5 separate regions of the Homo sapiens genome follow, and regions 2, 3, 4 and 5 are each linked to region 1. The links are contacts of gene promoters, found by promoter capture Hi-C in blood cells and fetal thymus (Javierre and others, 2016). All regions are on one chromosome and are shown on one strand. Each heading gives the region's core, a stretch centred on a gene start or on the middle of the fragment in contact. The rest is flanking DNA. Distances are from core to core; before and after follow the strand shown. Region 1 holds the start of SMU1 (SMU1 DNA replication regulator and spliceosomal factor). Region 2 overlaps NFX1 (nuclear transcription factor, X-box binding 1). Region 3 has its middle 19 kb from the start of SPINK4. Region 4 overlaps NFX1 (nuclear transcription factor, X-box binding 1). Region 5 has its middle 3.9 kb from the start of NFX1.

Region 1 (2,700 bases), core at 144-2,643:
AAAACGCAAAACCAACCAACCAACCAAAATCCTCAATTAACTCTTCCTATAAATTTTGGCTAGTGTTATGTTGGTTTTGAATGTATTAATATCCCATCAGGTATTGCATATTCAGCCTCATCTTAAATCTAATCAACTAATTACATCAAACGAAAGCAACATTGGCTGGGCGCAGTGACTCACGCCTGTAATCCCAGCACTTTGGGAGACCGAGGCGGGCGGATCACGAGGTCAGGAGTTCGAGAACAGCCTGACCAACATAGTGAAATCCCATCTCTACTAAAAATACAAAAAATTAGCCTGGCGTGATGGCAAGAAACCTGTAATCCCAGCTACTCCGGAGGCTGAGGCAAGAGAATCTCCTGAACCCGGGAGGCAGAGTTTGCAGTGAGCCGAGATCGCGCCATTGTGCTCTTCAGCCCGGGCGACAGTGCGAGATTCCGTCTCAAAAAAAAAGCAATCTTTCCAAACCAGTGCTCTTTCTTTTCTTTCTTTTCTTTTCTTTCTTTTCTTCTTTCTTTTCTTTGCTTTTCTTACTACAATCTTATCACCACTACTTTTCTTTTCTTCTTTTGAGACGGAATTTTGCTCTCCTTGCCCAGGCTGGAGTGCAATGGTGTGATCTCGGCTCACCGCATCCACCTCCAGAGGTGAAACGATTCTCCTGCCACAGACTCCCGAGTAGCTGAGATTACAGGCGCCCCCGCCACCACGCCCGGCTAATTTTTTGTATTTTTAGTAGAGACGGGGCTTCACCATGTTGCCCAGGCTGGTCTCGAACTCGCGCGCTGGGAGTACAGGCGCGAGCCACCGCGCTCCGCCCCAGCGCTTTTCTTTTTCAGTACATTTGTGAGCTGTATGGCGCCCGGTGCTTTTTTTCTTTTTCTTTTCTATCTTTCTTTTTTTTTTTTTTTTTTTTTTGAGACGGAGTTGCGCTCTTGTTTTCCATGCTGGGGTGCAATGGCGCGATCTCGGCTCACCGCAACCTCCGCCTCCTGGGTTCAAGCGATTCTCCTGCCTCAGGCTCCCGAGTAGGGATTACAGGCATGCGCCACTACGCCCGGCTAATTTTGTATTTTTAGTAGAGACGGGGGTTTCTCCATGTTGGTCAGGCTGGTCTCGAACTCACGACCTCAGGTGATCGCCCGCCTCGGCCTTCCAAAGTGTTGGGATTACAAGCGTGAGCCACCGCACCCGGCTCCGGCCTGCTTTTAAACAGTCTTCCTCCTGATGCGTATTTCTCTGGGGCAGGGGCATAAACTCCGCCCTCTGACAGCCCCTGAGGGCTCCGCCCCTACGCGAACCTCGCCCCTACTCTTCGTTCACTCTATCTCCAGAGCGGGAGCCAGACGCCGACCCAAGCGGAAGTGACGTTAGGTGTCCGCCGGAGGTGTCGTTGGTGTGTTGCGCGACTGGCCTTGAGGGAGAGCTGGGGCCTGCTCCCGGAGAGATACGGCTATGTCGATCGAAATCGAATCTTCGGAGTGAGTCCTGCGGTGGGGATGTTCGCGCCTTGCCGGGGGCCTGGAGGTTAAGGGTGTGGGGCGGAGGGTACTCGGGAGAAGGCATCCGAGAGGCCAGGGAGTGGAGGGCCATTTCCTTGCCCCCAAAGAAGCATCTTGGATCTCGCTACCTCGGAGGTGGGCCCACAGGAAAGTAGCAGCTCTCAGACGTGAAGCCCAAAACCTCGAGGGAGGTGGCACGGGTGGGGAAAACACACCTTGCAGACCTAAGTTCTGTCCTTGGCCGACTGCTGGCGCGCTGTGATTGACCAAATTAAGGATCCACTCTGGACTCCAGTCTAATTATCTGCGCAAGGGGATAGGTCTCTTTAAGCCTTGCTTCTCTCCCTGTCCAGCTTATGCAATGTGATTCGTTGTCTCTGCTTATACGGCCCCTTTGCTTTTCTCTGCCTAGCGTTTATCACTCAGTATTGTCACTGTTTGATAACCTCACCCCAAACTAGCCTTTGTCGGTGCCTAGGAGCTCCTTTTCCTTGTGGTCTCAGTGTCTAGCATACCTTAGAGGAAGAGTTAATTGCTTTTGGAATGAATGAACAACTAGCTTTTGGAATGAATGAACAACTATCAGGCCCGATCTGGCACGGAATTTTGGGTTGTCTGGGGAGAGACAGACTGGAGACTGGGCTAGAAAGAAAAATTTTCAAGGAATAGGGGATGAGAATTAGTGACTAAAGAAGACCTTAGTGTGCTTTTCCAGAACTCCATCCTCCACCTGTCCTTGCCAACACTTAATAATAATTAAATTAACAGACATAAAAATTGTGTCTGAGTGTAAGGGAGGGAGAGGACCTTTTTTGGAGACTTTTCATAGGAGGAAGGGAGGTTTATGCATTCAGCAAATACTGAAATGATGTTAACCTACTTGTCCAAGGTCACATAACTTTGATTCAAATCCCAGACTATCTTCAAAGCTTCTAGCTCTTTATGTATTCATTTCTGTTTGAAGGTAGGGAATTTGATTTTGGCTATGTCAAATGTGAGCTGTTTGAGGAGAGAGATGACTTATTTTGGGAGTGTAAAATGGAAGTCAACGGACATGTGCTAAGGAAGATAGTATCATAGCAGAATAACAGGGGTCTAAGTCTGGATACCTGCATACCTCATAAAGGGGCCATGAGAGAAAAAGACTACTGCAGGTAGCAGCAATCAGTTCCCTTTTTTTTTTTTGAGACGGAGT
Region 2 (2,700 bases), core at 139-2,638, 250 kb before region 1:
GGGAGAATGAAGAAAACTGACAGCAGCCACTTCCAGCTTACATGTCCCAACCCTGCTTACAATTTTCAGTCACACAGATCACAAAGAGCATCTCTGGGCATTACTAAATTTATGATTGCCAAATCACAGCATCTCAGTCTTTAATACAGTATTTACAAAGTACAAAAGTGGTCCCATACCTGACATTCAAAAATGCCTCTGTTATCCTATGTATATTGTAATTTCTTTCAGGAAAAAACCCATATATGATTACACAACTTTTGTAACATGTAAATTATACTACTTTTCCCTTTTTTCTGAAGTTTTCCTATTAAACTAGCTTCCCATTTATGGACTATATCCTCAGAATTATTCGCAAGTCAGATGCTGCCAGACCCTGCATTGTGTTTAACAGAACCAACGGTTCACAATTCTGTCTCCACCCTGGCTTGTACTCTACTGGGACAAATGTTGATATACACTAAAATGACTAAGTAGGTCAAAGAGCAGGATAAATCAACACTCAGTGTGTTCCCCAAGCTGAATCACCCGAAGACTTTTTATAACATAAAGTCTGATGAAAACTATCCAAGGTAGGCTGGGCACAGTGGCTCACGTCTGTAATCCCAGCATTTTGGGAGGCTGAGGCGGGTAGATTACCTGAGGTCAGGAGTTCAAGACCAGCCTGGCCAACATGGTGAAACCCCACCTCTACTAAAAATACAAAAATTAGCCAGGAGTGGTGGTGCACACCTGTAATCCCAGCACTTTGGGAGGCTGAGGCAGGAGGATCACTTGAGGTCAGGAGTTTGAGACCAGCCTGGCCAACATGGCAAAATCCCGTCTCTACTAAAAATACAAAAATTAGCCGGGTGTGATGGCATGCACCTGTAATTCCAGCTACTCCAGAGGCTAAGGCATAAGAATCACTTGAATCTGGGAGGTGGAGGCTGCAGTGAGCCAAGACTGCGCCTCTGCACTCCATCCTGGGTGATGGAGTGAGACTCTGTCTCAAAATAAATAAATAAAATTAAAAAAAAAAAAAGAAAAATAAAAACCATCCAGGCTTTCACCAGAAAGTAGAAACTGACAAAACAGATGTACAGTGAAGAATTAAACCTTACTTAAAGAGAGTCTGGCCTTTGTGCTTGGCTTCTGAGAGGTAATCTCTAAGCCTAGTGGAATGCCATGCCTGATATAAGTGTCATTGTTTGCCTGGAGTCTTGAGTCACTGGATAGTCCAATTACGTGATTTAGGAGCAGGCTGGCCACACTGGATAGTTTTAGGGCAGGGGTTTTGGGTCACATGGTATCGGTACACCTCGGGAGAGACTGGAGACTGAGATTAGCCACATGGGCAGTCAACTATGATTGCACAATAGAGCACCAATAAAAACTGAACACACAGGTCTGGGTGAACTTTCCTGGTTGGCAATATTCCATGTATGCTGGCACACACTGAAGCGGAGAGAGTAATACTTTCCTGACTCCACAGGGAAAGGACAAATGAAGTTCCACCTTTGGTATTTTTTTGGACTCTGTCCTACATACTTCTTCCCTTGGCTGATTTAATCTGTATCCTTTTCCTTGTAATAAAACTGTAACCTCCTTGTAGTAAAGCTCTAACCATGAGTGTAACCACCAGCAAGTTCGGTGAGTCCTTTTATCAAATTATCAAGCCTCGCAGGTGGTCTTAGGGACCACTGAACTTTCAATTGGTATCAAAAGTTGGTGCCACAAGTGGGTGGTCATATGGACTGTGTTTCCTCTAACTTCTTAGTTGGCTGACTCCTTGCAACAGTGCTACTGTTCCCCTTTTCAGACTATCACACCTGTATTTGGTAGAGTGATCTGTATATTTGCCTTATCCCACTATAGGCCTCTGGACCTTGAGTGCCACAACCACTTCCCATACCTAATCTACTGAGGTTATTTTGATTCCTCCCCTCCCATAATCACCATTTTAAAGAAAACATTGATGGCAACAACTCTAGCATTGTTTAGGATTTACCTTTGTTCTGAAAGAGCATCTGCAGGAAATAACTGATGTGCGAGAGCATGGTCCACAGTCTCCTTCATGGCAGAGCTTTTCACAGGTATGAATGAAATCTTTAATAAAAACGAAAAGAGCTGGAAATGAAAACTGCAACTACTCATTTTCATACTCCCAAATTTGCTAGCCACACTGGTCTTCCCCTCCATGCCCTGCAACTCCAGAATCAGAGTTGAGGGAAGTATGCAGTCAATGCTTCTTCCCTATCTTCCCTTCATCTGGCAGACTGGGCCTTTTCTGACAACTTCAGGGCCCAGCTTAGACACTGGAATATGCTTTAAAGTATACGACGATTTGCCTAAGTCAAAAAAAGGCCAAGTGTGGTGGCTCATGCCTATAATTCCAGCACTTTGAGAGGCTGAGGTGGGAGGATCGCTTGACCCCAGGAGCTCGAGATCACCTGGGAACATGGTGAAACCCTGTGTCTACCAAAAAAAAAAAAAGCACAAAAACAAGAAATTAGCCAGGAGTGGTGATGCAGGCCTACAGTCCCAGCTACTCAGGAGTCTGAGGTGGGAAAATCTCCTGAGCATGGGACGTTGAGGCTACAGTGAACTGTGATCGCACCACTGAACTCCAGTCTAGGTGACAGAGCAAGACCCTGTTTCAAAACAAATAACAAAAACACAGAATAAATCTTCTTTTTCCTCAGGCCCCACATCTCCAGT
Region 3 (2,700 bases), core at 8-2,507, 140 kb before region 1:
ATCCTCCATGCTAGGGAGTACGGCTACAAAGACTACGTGTCCCAGTAGCCCCCAGACTAGTCAGGGAGCAGATGTGGGCAGACTGTGCTGGCACCTGGGACAACGGCTGAGCCAGGTGTTCAGGAAATGATGGATGAAGTGATTAATTCTGACATCAGCACTCTGATAATCTTCACAGAACAAGCAAGACCTCATCTGAGCCTAGAAATAAGCCTGGGTCCCTTCCATCTTTGCAGTATCAGGAGCTTGTTAGAAATGCAGAATGTCCTGACCTAGAACTCCCAAATCAGGACTTAGGCTGTGGCAAGATCCCTGGGTGATCCTTATGCGCATTCACGTTTGAGAGGCGCTGACTTAAAATAGCGGGCTTTCTGACAAGAATGTAAACAGAACCAAAATATACTTCTGTGTGGGGTATTGGTCAAAGGCTGACCTAGTGGGCTCCATACTAGGCCAGGCAGACAGAATACAAAGATAGGGTATAGAAAGACTGGTAGTGGCAACAAGTGAAGTGTCTTCTCTCCTGTCCTGGCCCTCACCTAACAAGGACTGTGATTCAGCAGGTTAGACTGCAGATATGCAGTGTGGAGGGAGCAAGGACAGGCAACGAGGCCACCCCTGTGGTCCCTTCTGCCTAGATGTCTGCCGTGACTGGCTCAGTGTAATGGGTATGGCTCGGAGGAAGGGAGCAGGGCATGAGGGAAGGATGCTTCCCATTACCCTCATCTAGAGACACCACCTCTGCTGTGGACCAGGTAAGTGACAGGCCACAGGGGCTCGGAGCCCAGGGCTCTGTGTGAAGAATTTTTGGCCTCTTCCTCTTCCTCTTGATCTTCAACACTGGTCACAAGAGGAAGCGCAGGGAGGGTTCAGGGCAGCCTGACCCTTCAGGAAGCAGACACATTTAGGGCCAGTGTGCCTGGAGGGTTCAGGGCGGCCTGACCTATCAGGAAGCACACACAATACCCTTGCCTGGGACTGGACCTGGGCCCAGACCTGGGCCCTGCTGGCCTCGGTGAGACTGTGGGCAGGTTGGGCCTTGGGAAGGGACCTTGGGAAGGGGCCTTGGTGAGGACCTAAGAGAAGCCCCTTCTCACAGACTTGGGCCTGTGATGGGTAGAGAGTGGCTAGCCCAGGTGGGGAGTAACTACGAGGGAAGGAAACTGAAAACCGCAACATCAATAACCACAGCACAACAAAACTAAATATAAAGAGATCCCAACACCCACCTGACAGCAGTTTCCCTGCCCCTGCCTCTGGAAGACGGTCTGTGTGCGAAGCATCCCCCAGCAGGGACCATATGTGTGTGCCCTCCAGAGTCCAGAGAAGGTGAGGTGAGCTCCCAATGCCCAGGATCATCAGGATGTAGACTTCTTGCTATTCTACCTAAACAAATAAATCAGACAGGAATCTCGCTAGTAGAGATGGCATTTCACATAGAGGGGAGGGCCCAAGGAAAGGCCCAAAGGCAGGACCACACTCATCCGGATAGGAAGACAAATGTCAACGTATACGTCTCTCTCCTATCCTGATTGAGCTGGCACTACTGTGTTTTCCAGTCTGAGGACACCAGTCACAACCTGTGCATATCACGGTGATAGAGTCACGTGGTTGCTCCTCAAGAACTGGGCTAGTTTGGACTCAACTTGTCTTCCAGCAGCCCACTGCACAGTGGCCCAACCTGGCCTCAGCTGGAAGACTAAGTACTCCCCATATCTCTACAACAGTTGCTCAGGACAATTCAGCTGGATCCACTGAAGCAGTCCCACTCCTAGAGGCAGCCCTCATCAGAAGGGTCTCTGCCTCCTGCTTTCTGAAGGGTTAACTCCAAGAGTCAACCAGGCCAAGGCATATCTGGAGACAGATTCCTTGGTTGGGACTTGCCAGGGTCAGTCTCATTTGTTTCTGATAACGTGAGCATAACATAATGTGTGTGTTTTCTTAAAAAACAACATAAGGCTAGGTGTGGTGGCTCAGGCCTGTAATCCCAGCACTTTTGGAGGCTGAGGTGGATGGATCACTTGAGGCCAGGAGTTTGAGACAAGCCTGACCAATGTGGTGAAACCCCGTCTCTACTAAAAATACAAAAATTAGCTGGGCGTGGTGGTGTGCACCTGTAATGCCAGCTACTCAGGAGACTGAGGCAGGAGAATTGCTTGAACCCGGGAGGTGGAGGTGGCAGTGAGCCGAGATCTCACCACTGCACTCCAGCCAGGGTGACAGAGTGAGACCCTGCCTCAAAAAGAAAAAAAAATAAAGCAAAAATAAAAAACAAAATAAGCAGGTTGGTGTTCCATGTAAGTCTGAAAGTCTGAATCTGCTAAGGAGTGTGTAACAATTGACCTGCCAAAAAAAAAAAAAAAACCGGAAAGGAAAAAGAGGCTGGGCATAGTGGCTCACACTTGTAATCACTTTGGGAGGCTGAAGTGTGCGGATCGCTTGAGCCCAAGAGTTTGCCACCAGCCTGGGCAATATAGGGAGACCCATCTCTACAAAATATATTTTAAAAAATTAGCCACATGTATTGGCATGCACCTGTGGTCCCAACTACTTGGGAGGCTAAGTTGGGAGGATTGTTTGAGTCTGGGAGGTCGAGGCTGCAGTGAGCTGTTATCACACCACTGCACTCCAGCCTGGGCAACAGAACAAGACCCTCTCTCATTAAAAAAAATGGAAGAAAAGAAAAATTATAATTACGAA
Region 4 (2,700 bases), core at 134-2,633, 230 kb before region 1:
CGAGCGCGGTAGCTCATGCCTGTAATCCCAACACTTTGGGAGGCCGAGGCGGGTGGATCACGAAGTCAATAGTTCAAGACCAGCCTGGCCAAGATGGTGAAATCCCATCTCTACTAAAAATACAAAAACTAGCCAGGTGCGGTGGCAGGCGCCTGTAATCCCAGCTACTTGGGAGGCTGAGGCAGGAGAATTGCTTGAACCCAGGCAGCAGAGGTTGCAGTGAGCCGAGATCGCACCACTGCACTCCAGCATGGGTGACAGACCGAGACTCCGTCTCAAAAAAAAAAAAATCCTTGTCACTTTGGTATTTTACCCGAAATAATGGGTAGTCTCACAATCTCATTGTGCATATAACTTCTTAATCACTTATAAGATTACAAAATAGGGTCATGGGCAGCACAGGGAACTACTAGTTACAGAAAAGTACTATCCATGGCACATTTGGTCTCTCAAGTTGCCCACTTGGCTCTCTTCCAAGTTGTACTTTCCTTCTGTCCTTTCCTTCCTGTTCTAAAGCTTTTTAATAAACTTTCACTCCTGAAAAAAAAAAAGTACTATTCATGCCTACCATTTATTTGTATCTACCTACTATTCTTTTATTTCAGAAATTCACAAGTCAATCATGCATGTGAAAACTGAGGTCTTCTTTAGGGTGTAATTTTAACTTTACCTGGTTCGTCCACATTCACATGTTTTTGTCATAAAGGCAGGGCAGGGTGGGCAGGGTCCTGGATGGCAGAGACTGAAAGAGAAAGGTTTCACTGAATAAACCACAGCCATGTATCCAAACCCGAACAAAGCTGTCCCAGCTGGGTCTTATTGTGAATATGGCAACAAATACATCTACTATGACATGTCTTTGTATTTGTTTAAAGTTGATTAAACTATTTGAACAAAGATATCAACTGTACTTTTATGTGCAAAAAATCGACATCATTATCACCACAGACTATTTAACCACAGAAGTAAATCCCAAGTCAAAATACTGGTTATATTTGGGTCTGAGAGTCAAAGATGACATTTTCAAATACAGTCTTGGCCCACTTACAGCAGTGTGTGGGGATAAAAATAGTTTGCTACTCAGGTAAAAGGCAGAATGGCTAATAGGGTCCTGTAGAAGATCAGAGTCTAAGCAAAGTAATAGAACTCAAATCTACCTGGTCCGTAAGAAGTACAGACATACTATCAGCTAGTGAAGTAATAATCAGGCACTGGGCAAACAATGGAACAGTGAAAAGAAGGCTGACATGAGGGGAGGCATGCTAGTGAGTAACATGGAGAGAATGAAAGGGAAGGGGGTCATGGAAAGAACTGGGCTGAGTGATATGCTATAGGTCAGAATTAGCCCTCTGAAAAATGCTATTTTAGGAGCTATATTATAGAGACCAATAGAAAAAAGTTACAATACGGAATTTGTATATTCAAATATATACTGCCCTCTTCAAAGCAGACACTTTGGCAAATTACACAGTGGTACAGAAATACCACTACTTAAAACATTTTGGGAACTTCTACGACAACTGTTTTTGGAGTAGGAGGGGTATATTCTAGGTGGCAAATTACAACCCTTTGGGAATCAAAAGCCAATCAGAGCCAAGACTAATTAATCAGATGGGTAACAGAATTTGCTGTAAAACATTAGTGTGCTTATAAAGTGGTCTGGCTGGAATGTTTAGTTTCTATGAAACTCCTAAACAAGCTCTGATAATTCTTAAATAAAGTTTAAACATTGAAAACAATCCAGGAACAAGTGTCTAGTCTTCTAAGATGACTCATTTTGATAGACAATACCCATAGGAGACATAAGTTTAAGCATGTTTCTTTAAAGATGAGTATCATTATTCAACAGTTATATTTTATATATACCTCAATCCTTTCGGGTGAAACAATTTTCATTGCTTGTCAGGTGTGGGTGATTCTAGGTTATGTCAAATATCTCAGAAGCCTGGACTCAATCTCCTCAATCTCAGGTTTTCTTAACTTTTAGACCAGAGGTCCACAACACTGGCTATATATTGGAAGTGCCTGGAGAGCTTTTAAAAATATTGATGTTCACACCAGGCATGGTGGCTCATGCCTGTACTCTCAGCACTTTGGGAGGCTGAGGTGGGAGGATCGCTTGAGCCCAGGAGTTCAAGGGTGCAGTGAGCTACGATAGCACCACTGCACTCAAGCCTGGGCAACAGAGCGAGACCCTGTCTCTGTCACTTTTGAGTCCTAACAAGTGTAAATGAGAGAAAGCAAAGCTTTCTTGGAGACCAGAAAAGTGCTACTGGGGAATGGGCTTCTATGGTCCTGAAAGTAAAAGAAAGTTCCCAAGTCAAGTGTGAAAGCTCCAGAGCCACAAAAGAGCAGGAGCAGGTTTTAAGGTGTTCTTTTCTTTCAGACATGGTGCTGATCACTTGATCTGCAACAGTTTTAATCTCTGGTAGTCATGAAGGGTTTGGAAAAATAGTCCATGCAGAGGATTAAGTTTTTTTTTTTTTTCTCTGAGACGGAGTCTTGCTCTGTAGCCCAGGCTGGAGTGCAGTGGCATGATCTCGGCTCACTGCAACCTCCGCCTCCCGGGTTCACGCCATTCTCCTGCATCAGCCTCTCCAGTAGGTGGGACTACAGGTGCCCACCACCACACCCGGCTAATTTTTTATATTTTTAGTAGAGACAGGGTTGCACCGTCTTAGCCAGGATGGTCTCGATCTC
Region 5 (2,700 bases), core at 4-2,503, 210 kb before region 1:
CCTCCCAAAGTGTTGGGATTACAGGCGTGAGCCACCGTGCCGGGCCAAACATTTAATGATGGTCTTTTGAGTTTCCTCCTTTTAAAACTGCTTATCCATATCCACTGCCCATTTTTCTTCCTGATGGTTTCTTGTATATTACAGGTGTCACTCGTCAGTTTTAGACATTTAAATTGTCTTCTATTCCATTAAATATTAATTTTGTCCTTTGTTGAACATAAATCCTTAATTTTGACAGCTCATCAAACTTTATAGTCACCTTTAAAAATTACCAGGTGTATCAGTCTGGGTCCAATCAGGAGAGAAGAACCCCACTTTTTGAACAGGAATTACATTTTTTTAATAAGGAAAGTTTTATTTAAAGATTTATTAAGTATAATAGGGGGTTGGAATAATAATGGATTGGCTAGTAAAGAAGCAAGATAATTCCAAAACAGGATTACCATATATAAAGAGCAGCTAGGGCTGAGGTAAGAGTGTCAAAGAAGAGCCGAGACCAGAGCTGGCCTGCAGACCTCGTTAGAGAAAAGACCTGTGGCTCACTGGATGGCATGGAAGTTGCCAGACATTTTTCTTACGGAGTGCTGGTTGAAGCCATTCTTGGGGAGGTGTCTCACCAGAGGTACTCTACTACAAACCATCTGCGGGGAGTGCTAGGAGAAGTTTCTGACAACTGGTCACTATATAGTGCGATAGCCAGGCACTGAAGAAGCCAGTGCATTGCAGAAGCCATTGAAGAAGTTGCCCAGACTACAGAAGCCTGCCCCACTGAAATCAGAAACAGGAGCCAAAACCCTTTTCCTCCTGCAGTATCTCTCCAGTGCCCTCTGCTGACAAGGTTTAATATCTGCCAGCTGGCAAAGAATAAATAAAAGGCCGAAATCCATTTCACAGAGCAAGCAAAAACAATAAATGTAGAACTGAAAGCAAATTCATAATTGGCACTCTACAGAATCTACTCATTATTTTCAAAACTTGTGAATAAATGAAAGTAAGCAAGCATTTATCTTGCCTTTCCTATACAAACTATTTCATGCAACATACTAAAGCTTATGGCAGGTGGTGAAAGCTGCAGGTGGTGAAAGATGGAAATATATAGCTGTAAACACTTATATTTGAAAAAGAACTCCAGATAATGGAATATTATTCAGTGCCCAAAACAAATGAAGCCAGCATGTTGGTGTTTACCTGTAGTCTCAGATACTTGGGAGGCTGAGGCAAGAGGATTGTCTGAGCCCAGGTGATTTCAAGCCCAACCTGGGCAACATAGCGAGATACTATCAAAAAACAAACAAACAAAAAATACCCAAAGACCAGGCATGGTGGCTCATGCCTGTAATCTCAGCACTTTGGGAGGCCAAAGCAGGTGGATCGCTTGAGTCCAGGAGTTCGAGACCAGCCTGGGCAACATGGCGAAACCCAGTCTCTACCAAAAATACAAAAATTAGTCAAGCTTGGTGGTGCATACCTGTAGTCCCAGTTACACAGGAGGCTGAAGTGGGAGGATCACTTGAGCCCAGGAGGCGGAGGCTGCAGTGAGCCAAGATTGCACCACAGCACTCCAGCCTGGGTGACAGAGCGAGATCCTGTCTCAAAAACACCAAACAAGACAAAAAATCCCAAATCCATATGAACTATCAAGCCATGAAAAGACATGGAGAAAACTTAAATGCATATTGCTAAGTGAAAGAAGGCAATCTGGAAAGACCATTTACTATTTGATTCCAACTATGTAACAGTCTGGAAAAGGCAAAATTATAGAGACAGTAAAAAGATCAGTGGTTGACAGGAGTTAAAGGGGAGAGAAGGATGAATAGGCAGAGTACAGAGGACTGCTAGGGTAGTGAACTATTGCTAGGGCAGTGAACTATTCTGCATGATACTACAAAGGGGGATACATGTCATTATATTTGTTAAAACCCATAGAATCACTAGCATGGCGGCTCATGCCTGTAATCCCAGCACTTTGGGAGGCCAAGGCGGATGGATCGCCTGAGCCCAGGAGTTCAAGACCAGCCTGGGTAACGTGGTGAAACCCCATCTCTACTAAAAATACAAAAATTAGTTGGGCATGGTAGCATGCGCCTGAGGTCCCAGCTACTCAGGAAGCTGAGGTGGGATCACTTGAGCCCGGGAGGCGGAGGTTGTGGTGAGCTGAGATCATGCCACTGCACTCCAGCCTGGGTAACACAGTGAGACCCCATCTCAAGCAAAAAACAACAAAAAACCCCATAGAATGTACATCAAGAGTGAACCCTAATGTAAACTATAGACTTCGTGTGATAATAATGTGTCAGTGTAGATTCACTGATTGCAACATACCACCGTGGTGAGGGAAGCTGATAGCGGGAAGGTTGTGTGTTATATGGGAGCTCTCTGTGTTTTCCACTCAATTTGTTGTGAACCCAAAACTCTAAAAAAATAAAGTTTATTAATAAAAAAGAAGAAAAATTGCAAATCAATAGCCTAAACTTCCACCTTAAGAAATTGGAAAAAGAATAACAGGGCTGGGGTGGGGGTGGTTCACACCTGTAATCCCAGCACTTTGGGAGGCCAAGGCGAGAGGATCGCTTGAGGCTAGGAGTTTCAGACTAGCCTGGGCAACATAGTGATACCCCATCCCTACTAAAAATTGAAAAAAAAATTAGCTGGGCTTGATAGCACATGTCTGTAGTTCCAGCTACTAGGGAGGCTGGGGAG

Evidence for each region. The method cuts DNA at HindIII sites, captures the fragments that hold promoters and counts their contacts. A CHiCAGO score of 5 or more calls a contact.
Region 2: a contact is called between a fragment that was not itself captured here and the fragment with the promoter of SMU1 in region 1, in 1 of 17 cell types (total B cells). The highest score is 5.3, in total B cells.
Region 3: a fragment that was not itself captured here is called in contact with the fragment with the promoter of SMU1 in region 1 in 17 of 17 cell types (M2 macrophages, total B cells, total CD8 T cells and 14 more); the score reaches 37.1 in M2 macrophages.
Region 4: a fragment that was not itself captured here is called in contact with the fragment with the promoter of SMU1 in region 1 in 2 of 17 cell types (total B cells and M0 macrophages); the score reaches 6.2 in total B cells.
Region 5: a fragment that was not itself captured here is called in contact with the fragment with the promoter of SMU1 in region 1 in 5 of 17 cell types (naive B cells, total B cells, monocytes and 2 more); the score reaches 10.6 in naive B cells.

The regions. Positions count from the first base shown.
Region 1 is chr9:33,075,367-33,078,066 of GRCh38, reverse strand. SMU1 (SMU1 DNA replication regulator and spliceosomal factor) reads left to right here and starts at 1,393. Exons shown (of 12, transcript NM_018225.3): 1 at 1,393-1,484. The coding sequence starts at 1,459. RefSeq lists enhancers at 1,012-1,211, 1,382-1,531. The HindIII fragment of the contact is 3,581 bases long and covers 1-2,436 here.
Region 2 is chr9:33,327,969-33,330,668 of GRCh38, reverse strand. NFX1 (nuclear transcription factor, X-box binding 1) reads right to left here. Exons shown (of 24, transcript NM_002504.6): 10 at 1,991-2,088. Among named protein-coding and RNA genes, the nearest start is that of NFX1, 39 kb to the right of the region's middle. The HindIII fragment of the contact is 7,999 bases long and covers 1-2,700 here.
Region 3 is chr9:33,219,638-33,222,337 of GRCh38, reverse strand. No RefSeq gene overlaps it. Among named protein-coding and RNA genes, the nearest start is that of SPINK4, 19 kb to the left of the region's middle. The HindIII fragment of the contact is 3,336 bases long and covers 1-2,700 here.
Region 4 is chr9:33,309,148-33,311,847 of GRCh38, reverse strand. It overlaps NFX1 (nuclear transcription factor, X-box binding 1), which reads right to left. Exons shown (of 24, transcript NM_002504.6): 6 at 671-742. Among named protein-coding and RNA genes, the nearest start is that of NFX1, 20 kb to the right of the region's middle. The HindIII fragment of the contact is 1,730 bases long and covers 519-2,248 here.
Region 5 is chr9:33,285,315-33,288,014 of GRCh38, reverse strand. No RefSeq gene overlaps it. Among named protein-coding and RNA genes, the nearest start is that of NFX1, 3.9 kb to the left of the region's middle. The HindIII fragment of the contact is 404 bases long and covers 1,052-1,455 here.